3 separate regions of the Homo sapiens genome follow, and regions 2 and 3 are each linked to region 1. Evidence: promoter capture Hi-C in 16 types of primary human blood cells and fetal thymus (Javierre and others, 2016). All regions are on one chromosome and are shown on one strand. The core of a region is centred on a gene start or on the middle of the fragment in contact, and the rest is flanking DNA. Distances in the headings are between cores, read along the strand shown.

What was found. Contacts are between HindIII fragments. The CHiCAGO score rates a contact against its expected background, and 5 or more counts as called.
Region 2: a contact is called between a fragment that was not itself captured here and the fragment with the promoter of HABP2 in region 1, in 2 of 17 cell types (M2 macrophages and M1 macrophages). The highest score is 5.5, in M2 macrophages.
Region 3: a fragment that was not itself captured here is called in contact with the fragment with the promoter of HABP2 in region 1 in 1 of 17 cell types (M1 macrophages); the score reaches 7.0 in M1 macrophages.

What each region holds. Positions count from the first base shown.
Region 1 is chr10:113,550,932-113,554,333 of GRCh38, reverse strand. HABP2 (hyaluronan binding protein 2) reads right to left here and starts at 1,281. Exons shown (of 13, transcript NM_004132.5): 1 at 1,144-1,281. The coding sequence starts at 1,212. The HindIII fragment of the contact is 3,226 bases long and covers 635-3,402 here.
Region 2 is chr10:112,529,300-112,532,722 of GRCh38, reverse strand. The region is part of intron 4 of VTI1A (vesicle transport through interaction with t-SNAREs 1A); the gene reads right to left. Among named protein-coding and RNA genes, the nearest start is that of VTI1A, 84 kb to the right of the region's middle. RefSeq lists an enhancer at 1,418-1,467. The HindIII fragment of the contact is 1,484 bases long and covers 726-2,209 here.
Region 3 is chr10:112,468,524-112,471,898 of GRCh38, reverse strand. All of the region lies in intron 3 of VTI1A (vesicle transport through interaction with t-SNAREs 1A), which reads right to left. Among named protein-coding and RNA genes, the nearest start is that of VTI1A, 23 kb to the right of the region's middle. The HindIII fragment of the contact is 159 bases long and covers 1,329-1,487 here.

The DNA.
Region 1 (3,402 bases), core at 32-2,531:
AAATGCAAAGGTACTTAATAAGACAGAGAGGTTATGACTGTTATTTTAGTTCTTATCCTCTGCCCACTTTCTACCACCCCTCCCGAACAAGGCGGAGCATTCTCTGATTTTTATGGAGAAGTTGTGTTCATTCTTGACATTTTAAGGGAGTAGAGCTCACATTTATTTGCAAGCCACATACATGACCTCGTTTACTTGTGGCCCTCCCCAAATCTATGAGAGGTTAGCACTTGATTTGCAGAAGACAACACTGAGGCTCAGAGAGATTATGTTCCTTGCCCAACATTCCACAGCTAGAATGTGGCAAAGCTGAGATTCGAACCCTGGCTCCAAAGCCCACATTCATGCCTCAGACCACAACCAGCACGGAACTCCAAGGAGACTCTATTTCTGTGCAAGGTCCTCTTTCCATGCCCACAGAGATCCATCTGACACTCTTGGACCATGGCACACAGAAGGAACTAACATCTTGACAAGTCATCTGCTCCGGAAGGTCCTGAGTCCCCCGTTCAAGACTCTCTGATGGGACTTCCCTTCCCTGCGCACTGCAACCTCCCTTGGGCCCCTGCTCACCTTCTCTGCCTCATCTGCTGCTGTCACAGGGAAAAGGAGACAAAGTACTAAACACAAAGCTTCTCCCCAAATCCAAACTATTTATGCAGACCCACTGCCAGGATCTTTTGCAGTCAGCAGGCTTCCCCTCTAAGGCCATAGCACATTGCTTCTTACCCTAGTGTCAGCCACAAATCGCTGGAAAACTGTGTGTGTCAGCACCAATAGATAGGTATATTTTCCTGGGGAGAGAGTTTATAGCTTTCCATGGCTTCTCAAAGGGGTCTATGAGATCCATGACAGATTACAATCCATGCCCTGGGGCACATTTTCTTGCCCCAGTCTCCTTTGCTGGAATGCATTCATGGAGGCTCCGCTCCAAGATGGCTCAAGTCAGACACCTGTTCCCATGGGAGTGGCTGCTCAAAAGAAACCAAGCCACAGGCCTGCATTGGTTCTTGTAGTTAGAACATCTCCAACTTGGCAACTCCAGCCTTTCACTCTAAAGTTTCTCATCACTCCCAGCCTAGCTTGGTCCTCCTAGTAAACTTCGGAGTCTCTCAACTACAAATATTAGAAAAGAACACTTACCCCACAGGCTGTCTTTCCCACCAGAGCCATTAACAGCAGAACATGGAGATCAGACATCCTGGCAAACATCTTTGCAGTTTAAGGACTTGTGTTTTCCTCTCAATAAAATTTCTTTTGTTGTCTATGCCTTTAGGGGGGAAAAATGTCAGTCTCCAAGGATTCAGGAACAAATGAAGAGGATGCAAATTATTAACTAGGCATCAAATACTGTTTAATGTTTAATGTTTTGCAAACTAACTATCTTGATTAAACAAATGGCAACTTTGGGGCTGGGCTGAGTCATGAAGTGGTTTCTCTTCTGGGGAGAAACTCTCCAAAGAAAGTAGCTGACATAGCCCCCTGGCTCCACGGTGCACATGACAGCTGCTGGGTGTTCCGAGCAGGAAGCCTGACAGCGTGACTAGCATCCCAGCCTCAGGATAAAAGATCAGGTGAAGCCTGTGCCACAGGCCTCTGCCAGTGCTGATTTGTACAGAATGTTAATAGACTTCTGGTTCATCAAATCTCAAACAGAATTAAGGCATGGATGGGCTCCTAATAACATCACACTTTATATTCATGAGACATAAATTAAAGGATGCAAAACTGCTATTGACAAACATTGATTCTGGGCCCTTTGAAGTGTTGCCCACAGTTGCTTGTTGGCTTCAAAAGTTTTGTTTTAAACCTCATTAGGTAAGACTTTTACTTTTTAATTATTTTTTCCCCTTTTGCTGGAGTCTTTCTTTGATCAAGCGGAGGAAAAAAAACATGGTGTTCATATTTCAGGACAATTGTTTCCTATGTTCCTTATTTAGCTATGCTGGTTGCAGGTAGAGTTCTGTCAAGCAGCAATTACCTATTAAGTGTGGGTTCTTGTGGACACAATTGATCTCTTTAATAGGCATGATCTTAATCTCCTGTAAACAACTGACTGCCCACAGAAATCTATGCCTGGGTTCCAGGAATCCTCCTGACTTGAGTCATAAATCCAGGTTTTGAAATGCTGCTGCCAGCGGAGGCATGTGCTCACCTGTGCCCCCCTGCCCAGCCCTGCCCCTACCTGCCATCCCTGTTTGGCACGTGGACTGCATCAGTGGCTGCATCTACTTCTGAAAGCCAAGTTGCTAGCCGGGGAGGGCCCCACAGATCCCAGCCCAAAAGAATGCCCCAGTCACCAGATGAGCCTTGAAGGACTAGCCAAGTCCTGGTCCTGCCATTTTACCTCCTAAATGACTTCCACATTATTTTCTTTTATCCACATATTTTTGTCTCCATCCTATTTTAGGCAGCCATCAACTCCCCCCACCCCGCCTCCTATACCATCAACATCCACCTGATCACCATAATACAAGCCCATGTTAGTAGTCCCTTTTTCTTTTTATTATTATTATTATTATTATTTTGAGACAGAGTCTCACTCTGTCATCCAGGCTGAAGTGCAGTGGCGTGATCTTGGCTCACTGCAACCTCTGCCTCCTGGATTCAAGTGATTCTCCTGCCTCAGCCTCCTGAATAGCTGGGAATACAGGTGTATGCCACCATGGCTGGCTAATTTTTGTATTTTTAGTAGAGACGGCATTTCGCCATCTTGGCCAGGCTGGTCTCAAACTCCTGACCTCAGGTGATCCACCCGCCTCAGGCTCCCAAAGTGCTAGGATTATAGGCATAAGCCACTGCGCCTGGCTGTAGTCCCTTTTCCTAGAAAGTTCTTCTCTAGCCCTACTCTGTCCTTCCCCTAATCCTTATGACAACCATAAATTTGTTAACTGGAACCCTGCTCACTCCTGAGCAAGTTAATTTAGTTAACTCTCCTAGTTAATGCATCTTTCATCTCTTAGCCCAAACATTACTTCCTCAGAAGCCCTGCATGCATTTCTTCTTTACAGCATTTATGAGGTTGTAATGTCACAGCCGTATTGCTATTTCATTAATATTTGTTTCCCATTGTCCCCATTAGACTGAAAACTCAGGAGAGCAGGCACTCTGTTTCAATCACCATTGAATCCTTGGCATAGATGCCCAGCACTGGATAGACGCTCAATAAGTTTATGTTGGATGAAATGAACAAATGAATGACCACTTTATCCATGTGACAGTTGGACATGTTATCACCAGGATGCCTTAGATAGCATAGCCAACTCAATGTGAAAGGAAAAACTGGATGTGGAAAACTAAAAGTATTTGTGAAATTTTAAGCACACTTCAACTTATTCATGAACACTCCATTAATATTCATCAAATACTTACAGAAGCTCTGCTGTGAGCCAGGCATTGGTG
Region 2 (3,423 bases), core at 218-2,717, 1.0 Mb after region 1:
TTTCACTAAAGTCAAATAAAAAATCACTCCTTACTTCTTAGTAAATTATCCTATGATAACATTTTAATTCTCTTATTTAGAACATTTTTCTATTTACCTTAAATATAACAGATAAAACAAGCTGTTTAACTCTTTAGGAACTAAAATATATAACCATATATCTGGCTCATTGTGTGTACGTGTGGGTGTGTGTGTGTTTGACATTATTCTAAACTACAAATATCACTGTATAAGTGAGATGACGACCACAGTTTCTGCAATGACTAGAAACTGAAACCTATGTTGTAACAGACTAAACCACATTCTAGGTCTGAAATTTGCATCCTCAGCAATTCAGGTCTACGACTGATAATTTTTAAACATCCAAATATCTGTAACATCTGTTATAACACTTGACATATGCAGGTCAATAAATTAAACTATTGCTTTGGGAGAAATGTGCCTGAATTGTTCACTATAAGTCTCTGTAAGTATCATGTTTACTATAGCCCGGATATCTCAATGCTTAACGCTGTTTTTGTCCCGAATTCAAGGAAGGCAGTATGCATTCCAGCTTATTCTGTTATTTCATTTGTTATATGAAAAGTATTTTGAGTACCAAAGAATAAGATTTTAAAAACTGTTAAGAATCTTTATAAAAAGGGTACATAAGTTATCATGTAATGTCTCACAGTACATTCAGTGAAAATGAAACCTTTATTATCATCGTTTCAAAATAAGAAGCTTTCTTTATTTTTAATTAACACACTCAGCAACCATCCAGTTACATACAAGTAAATCATCTTTTCATTTCACATGAAAAGTTATAATTCTTCCCCAGAAGAAGCAAAATTTTAAGCTAAAATACCTGGCCTATCATATATCGGAATCTTTCTCTTTGCTATCCCAACATCATGGGAGAAAAAGGCAAACATTAATTCTCAGAAAGAGACGATCTGGGAATTGATCGGCCAGCGATCTTTTCTTTCTGGGGGCACTATTCTTTGGTTGACTATGATACTTAAAGGGCCAAAGTTTAAAACTACTCTTCAGCAATAGAGACCATTTGGGGCATGCCACCCTGCCATAATCAATGAGTGTTTAAAAATGCTACCCATTTGTTTTTTCAATAGGTTCCAAACAAAAAACGTTCTATCTTGTTTGTGCTGCATGGCTGCATTCAAGCTCTACATCGGATTTGTAGCCAAGCTAGGTAATGGGAGGGTTTTTCATCTTTATCTTTTTTCTTTTTTTTTTTTTTCTTTGCTTAGGCCGGGAGTTATTCATTCAAGTAAACAAAAGATGGCCTATTTCTGAAAATTAACAATGCGTAGACTGGACTGTAAGTCGTGATTTCGTATTTTCTCGAGTTACTAGCTCCATCATAGGCAACATGAGAGTGTGCAATGCCACCATGTTGAGTTATGATAATCAACATCTTTTCTGAAACAAAGATTTTTTTTCCCCCAATGCAGAATTTGATACAAGAGGTAATCTGTTCCTTTGTGGGCTGAAAAAATCTGGTTTACGCTGGTTTGAACCAGTGGAATCTCTTGTGGTTAAGCCTTCTGCTGTGACTAAAATCAAAACTGCACTGCAGAGCATGTGAGGGTTCATGCGCGCGCGCGCACGTGCGCACGTGTGTGTGTGTGTGTGTGTGTGTGTGTGTGTGTGTGTGTGAGGTGTGTCACGTGACCCCAGAACTACCGAATTTTTTTTAAAGCTGATAACGCGACTGCTGTCTCTGTTCGCATACAGATAACGAATAAATGCTGAACTCTATTAAACGCCCTTTACACATTATCGTGGGTCGAACACACAATTTTCTGAACTTATGATGACAGTCTATTTATTTTGCTATAAACCCTCAGCACGTAACGAACAGATTTGTGCCTGGTAATGATCTGCTCTGCCAGGGCTATATGAAATGATACCGACCTTCTTTAGATCTTGGGGAATTAAATTGACCGACTTCACCCCCTGGTCTGTAGCTGAAGTTTGACACACTTTATGCACAGCAAGCCCAAATCAGAACTTAAGAGAACCTTGTATTAAGAAATTAAGCAATCATTATCTGCTAAATATTGCTTTGCCACAAAACTTTCCCCACATTTGGAAATAGTCTACTCTTTATATTTTGAATCTTCTATTTAGGATTTATTAAAAGTCACTGATCAATATAATTCTGCATATAGAAACTGAGAGAGTATTAGGGTTCAAAATCAAAGCTTGGAACAGTTTATTTGCCCCATTATCACACTTCACTATGAAAGGCTTTATGATTTTATTCTATAAGTTGTGTTTTTCCTTTTATGAGAATGGTTCTCATGAAATGCAATCAAGTTATGAACTATTAATGTTTCCACTCTAAATACAACATCACTACATTCAAGAACTCAACTCTTTCAAAGAAATAAAATGTTGCCACATGGAATGGTAAATACGGTATTTTCAAAGAATAGAATGATAATGCTTAAGACAGTAATCCTTGGAAAGCTGATAGCCCAAAAGTACTCAAATGTACAAAGTAGGTAATTTTCTTGCCCCTTCTTTGTAAATCAGCATTAGCTATATTTGATTGAATGAAATGAATATGAATCAGAAATGAATGTATACAAAGCATTTAATTTGGAATTAAATGCAAAGGGTATTGTATGAGGGACATTAAAAATGCTTTTGAAAAATTCTTAATTTCTGAATTTTTAACATTTCTAATCATGGCAGAAATGTTTATGTACCTAAGAGTAAATTAACATACTTTATAGTTAATTGGCAGACTATAATTATATGTATTACAGTCAGGTTTCAGATGCCTAAAAAAACTGCATCATAAATTATCAGAATGAGAAATAATAGCTATTGTATTCATATTATCGAATCTTCACAAAGAAGCAACTATAAGGAGGATGTGTATGTTACATTGAAAATACCTAGCCAGTATTTTACCTATATAATCATTGCTATTAATTCCTTATTTTCCTATTTTGATCTATATTTTTAAACTGACAGGTATATCCCAATTGCAATTAAATGAATATTGCTATTTTTATCTCATTTTGTTTATCTCCAAGTTTTATCCATTTATATAGTTAGTATTCCATGGATAAGAAGTTCTGAAAATCAATTTATTAGCAAATAACTTAGAAGTAAACTTATTTGTAGGCAGAAGACCTTTTCTTATATAAATTATAAGCAGCCCTACCTAGAAAAAAACTCTTCCTAGCTACTGAGCTACAAAGATTAGTATAGAGCCAAATTAAAATATTTTCTTTCTTTACAGAAAGAGCTTCCGTTTTGACTCCATATTCTGAATGAATGCTGATGCGGAATAAAAAAGTTATTCTCAAGTGACCATACCTAGTTAAGGATGTGTTTTAGTTTGAGGGATTTTAATTCCTATATTATGACAAAGAGCCTTAAAACAAAATGCAATGACTTCATATG
Region 3 (3,375 bases), core at 159-2,658, 1.1 Mb after region 1:
GTTTGTATAAATTTAGGGTTTTAAAATTTGCTTTAATTTTCTTAAGAAGCAAACTAATCTTAAACTTGAAAAATTCCTTAACTACATTTTTTTTTTTCCTCTTGGCTGGTTCATTTTCCTGGAACATTCTGACATGAGAAGGCCCTAGCTAACCTCATATCAATGTTGAAGGAAGAAATTACAAGAACAGCTTACAGGAATTCTAATTTTTTTTTTAAAAGTTGTTTTCAAATACCTAAACAGACTATTAAATACATTTTTATGGAAACTCAAAGGCGGGCAGGTTGCAAAGGATTGTGAAGAGAACATTAAAACGGGTGCTTAGTTACTCGATTCTGATTCTGGCTCCAGAAAGCAGTGTGACTTTAAGTCATTTGGTCTCCTCAGTCCTCCATTTCTTCATCTAAAACATAAGGTGATTAGATTTGACCTCTTCTGAACCTAATATTCCTAACTTCCTTTGAGGCTACACAAGAAGCCAAAAATGAACAATTATAGGCTGTAAGAAGCAAAAAAAAAAAAAAAAAAAAATCAATAAGAATGAAATTAGGTAAGTGAACAGAATAATCAGGAATGGTAACAGTATAAATGGGCACGTAAGTATGACCCCTAACTTTCCTTAACACCCTCCCACACACACGATGCTGACTGCAAATTACCGCATGAATTTTAAAATCCTTTAAACAGGTATTTAGTCAGCTACAAATTATATTCTATGATAAGCCACCGTAATGAAGAAAACCAAAATATGCCACCCCAAAATATACTTCTTTGGTGTATTTTTGAGATAGCTATTCAGAAGGGCTACAAACACAAAAATGGCTCTGAAAAGCTGGAGATTTGCATTTGTAGAGGAAATCAATATTAGTTAAGTAAACAGCAAATGCAAAACAGGCTTTCTCTGAGCGCCCCCACCCTGACCCGTATTGGCTTTACCCAGATCTTGGAAAGATGAACTCACAGGAAAGGGAGACTGAAAGTCTGATGCTTTTTTATTTTATTTTATTTTTTGACACTGAGTCTCTCGCTCTGTTGCCCAGGCTGGAGTTTAGTGGTGCGATCTCAGCTCACTGCAACTTCGGCCTCCTGGGTTCAAGGGAGGCCTCGGCCTCCCAAGTAGCTGGGATTACAAGTGTGCGCCACCATGCCCGGCTAATTTTTGCAATTTTAGTAGAGATGGGGTTTCACCATGTTGGCCAGGCTGGTATGTGAACATTGGTATGTGAACTCCTGACTTCAAGTGATCCGCCTGCCTCGGCCTCCCAAAGTGCTGGGATTACAGGCATGAACCACCGCACCCAGCACTTTTAAAGGTAACAGAGGAAGCTTTTCCACAGGCTCCCATCCATTCTTCCAGGGGGCTGCTGCCTGCCAGGCTCCAACAGCAGAGCCAAGACAACCTTTGCTTGCCTTCCTCCGTTCTTGCTCTGAAAACCTGTTCCCACACTCCAAATCTCTATGCTTTTCTGCACTACAGTATAAAAGCTTCAGTTATGTGGCCCTACTTTGAGTCTCTTACTTTGCGTGTGGCCCCTGTACTTACGCACACAATACATTTTGTTTGGTTTTTCCCATTAATCTGTCCAGTGTCAATTCATTTTAGCATACTTCGACTCAACCCTTGAGAGGGAAAGTTTCAACAGTAAACAGCAGACTATTATTTTTCATTCTCTGATATATAAAATTATCTGTTAAGGAATTAAGAAACATTAAATCTACACTGAACTTTCACTTCCTGCCATGGTGGGGTAATTGGTACAAGACAAACCCTCCTGTTCTACACAACTGTGAACACGGACAAAATGGATGAATCAATTATTTTCCAAAGTTGGACAACAAGCAGTGGAGGAGCGTAATTCCTTAAAGAAGAAAAACATGTGAAATGAGCCCCGCATGGCTCTCAGCCTGGAGGCACTTTCCCAATTGCAGCACACGGAGGGGGAGCCCACAGGGAGTGCAGCAAGTCACTGAACTTAGGAGGCAGACACTGGAGTTAGGACTGCTGGGATGCATCATCAAACATAGCAGGGTAATGGTGAGAAGCAGCCACAAAGAGAAGGAGCTCCAGAAATCGAGAAAGTGGTCCCCTAAGTCTTTGGCTGAAAATGAACTTGCATATGTAGAGGATGGGACCCCACGAGGTCTCACAGAGAACAGCTACTGGGGAGTAATGGATTGAATGGATATTTTAGAGGTTGCCCAGGGCAGAGAGATGGAATTCCAAACAAACATAGGCGAGAGAGCACTTATTAAACACTACAGTCATTCAAAAGGAACCCAAGAAAGGCCAAATCATAAAAGTAGGGCTACTCAAAATGTGTTCTAAAAAGTCTAACAATAAACTCTGAAAGGACCAATCTGATTTGCCAGTAAATTATCTAACTGTCTGAATAAAGCCTCTCATGGTCTAAAGCATGCATTGTCAACAGGAGCAATATCATGTCCACAGAGGCAAAAATTAGTTCTTGGGAGTATGATGAATCTTAAGATATTACAAAGATGTGTGGCCCTCCAAGGAGCCATAGTACATGAACAGATGTACAGATACAGAATATCAGTGGTATTAAAATTTAATAGGGGAAGGAGTGGGACGATTAGGAAAAACATGTCTAAAAAGTATCCTTGGAGAAGTGATAATGAAAAAAAAGGTTGAGCTGTGCTGTTCTAAAAAATAACAATAAAATCTAGGCTTTATAACAACATAGAGGCCATAACAGCAAGTATACTATAATAAAATTATTAGACACGTGAAGAAGCAATGGAACAAGATAGAATACCTAGAAATTGACCTGGATTTTATTCAGCAGGCAATGAGGACTCTGGGATTTTGTGTAATGGCATGACATATACAGATCAGTGTATTCAAAAGCTAATTATGGAATGGTGTACAGGGTTTTGAATGACAGAAGAACAGAATCAGGAAATAGTACTACAATTATCCAGATAGAGAAACCATGAAGGCTTTCAGTAGTAGAGATATTTAGGTGGTAGATCTGCTAATTCTCAGTGACCCAGTGGATGTACAAGGTTGAAAAATTAACGATAACTCTGAAGTAACCAGTACTTGTTGAATCTGAGTGTGTTTAAAAGACTCTGGGATAAATAGTAAGAAATATAAACCCAGAACTACCAAGAGGTCTGGGCTACAAATACCAGTCAGTATAGACGCAGCCATGGAAGGAACAGGAAAGATGATAACACACAGAGGAGGTTATGGGAGTAAGTACTGAGGAAGCCTGAAGGATCCAGGCATCCAAAGGGTAGGCAGAGGAGAAGGAACGGCTGGGGAAAGAAAGCAAGTGGACAAACGAGTCAAAGAAAACAGTATTGAGTTGTCCTCTGCCCCTCCCCATGGGCATAAATGCTCCCCTGAAG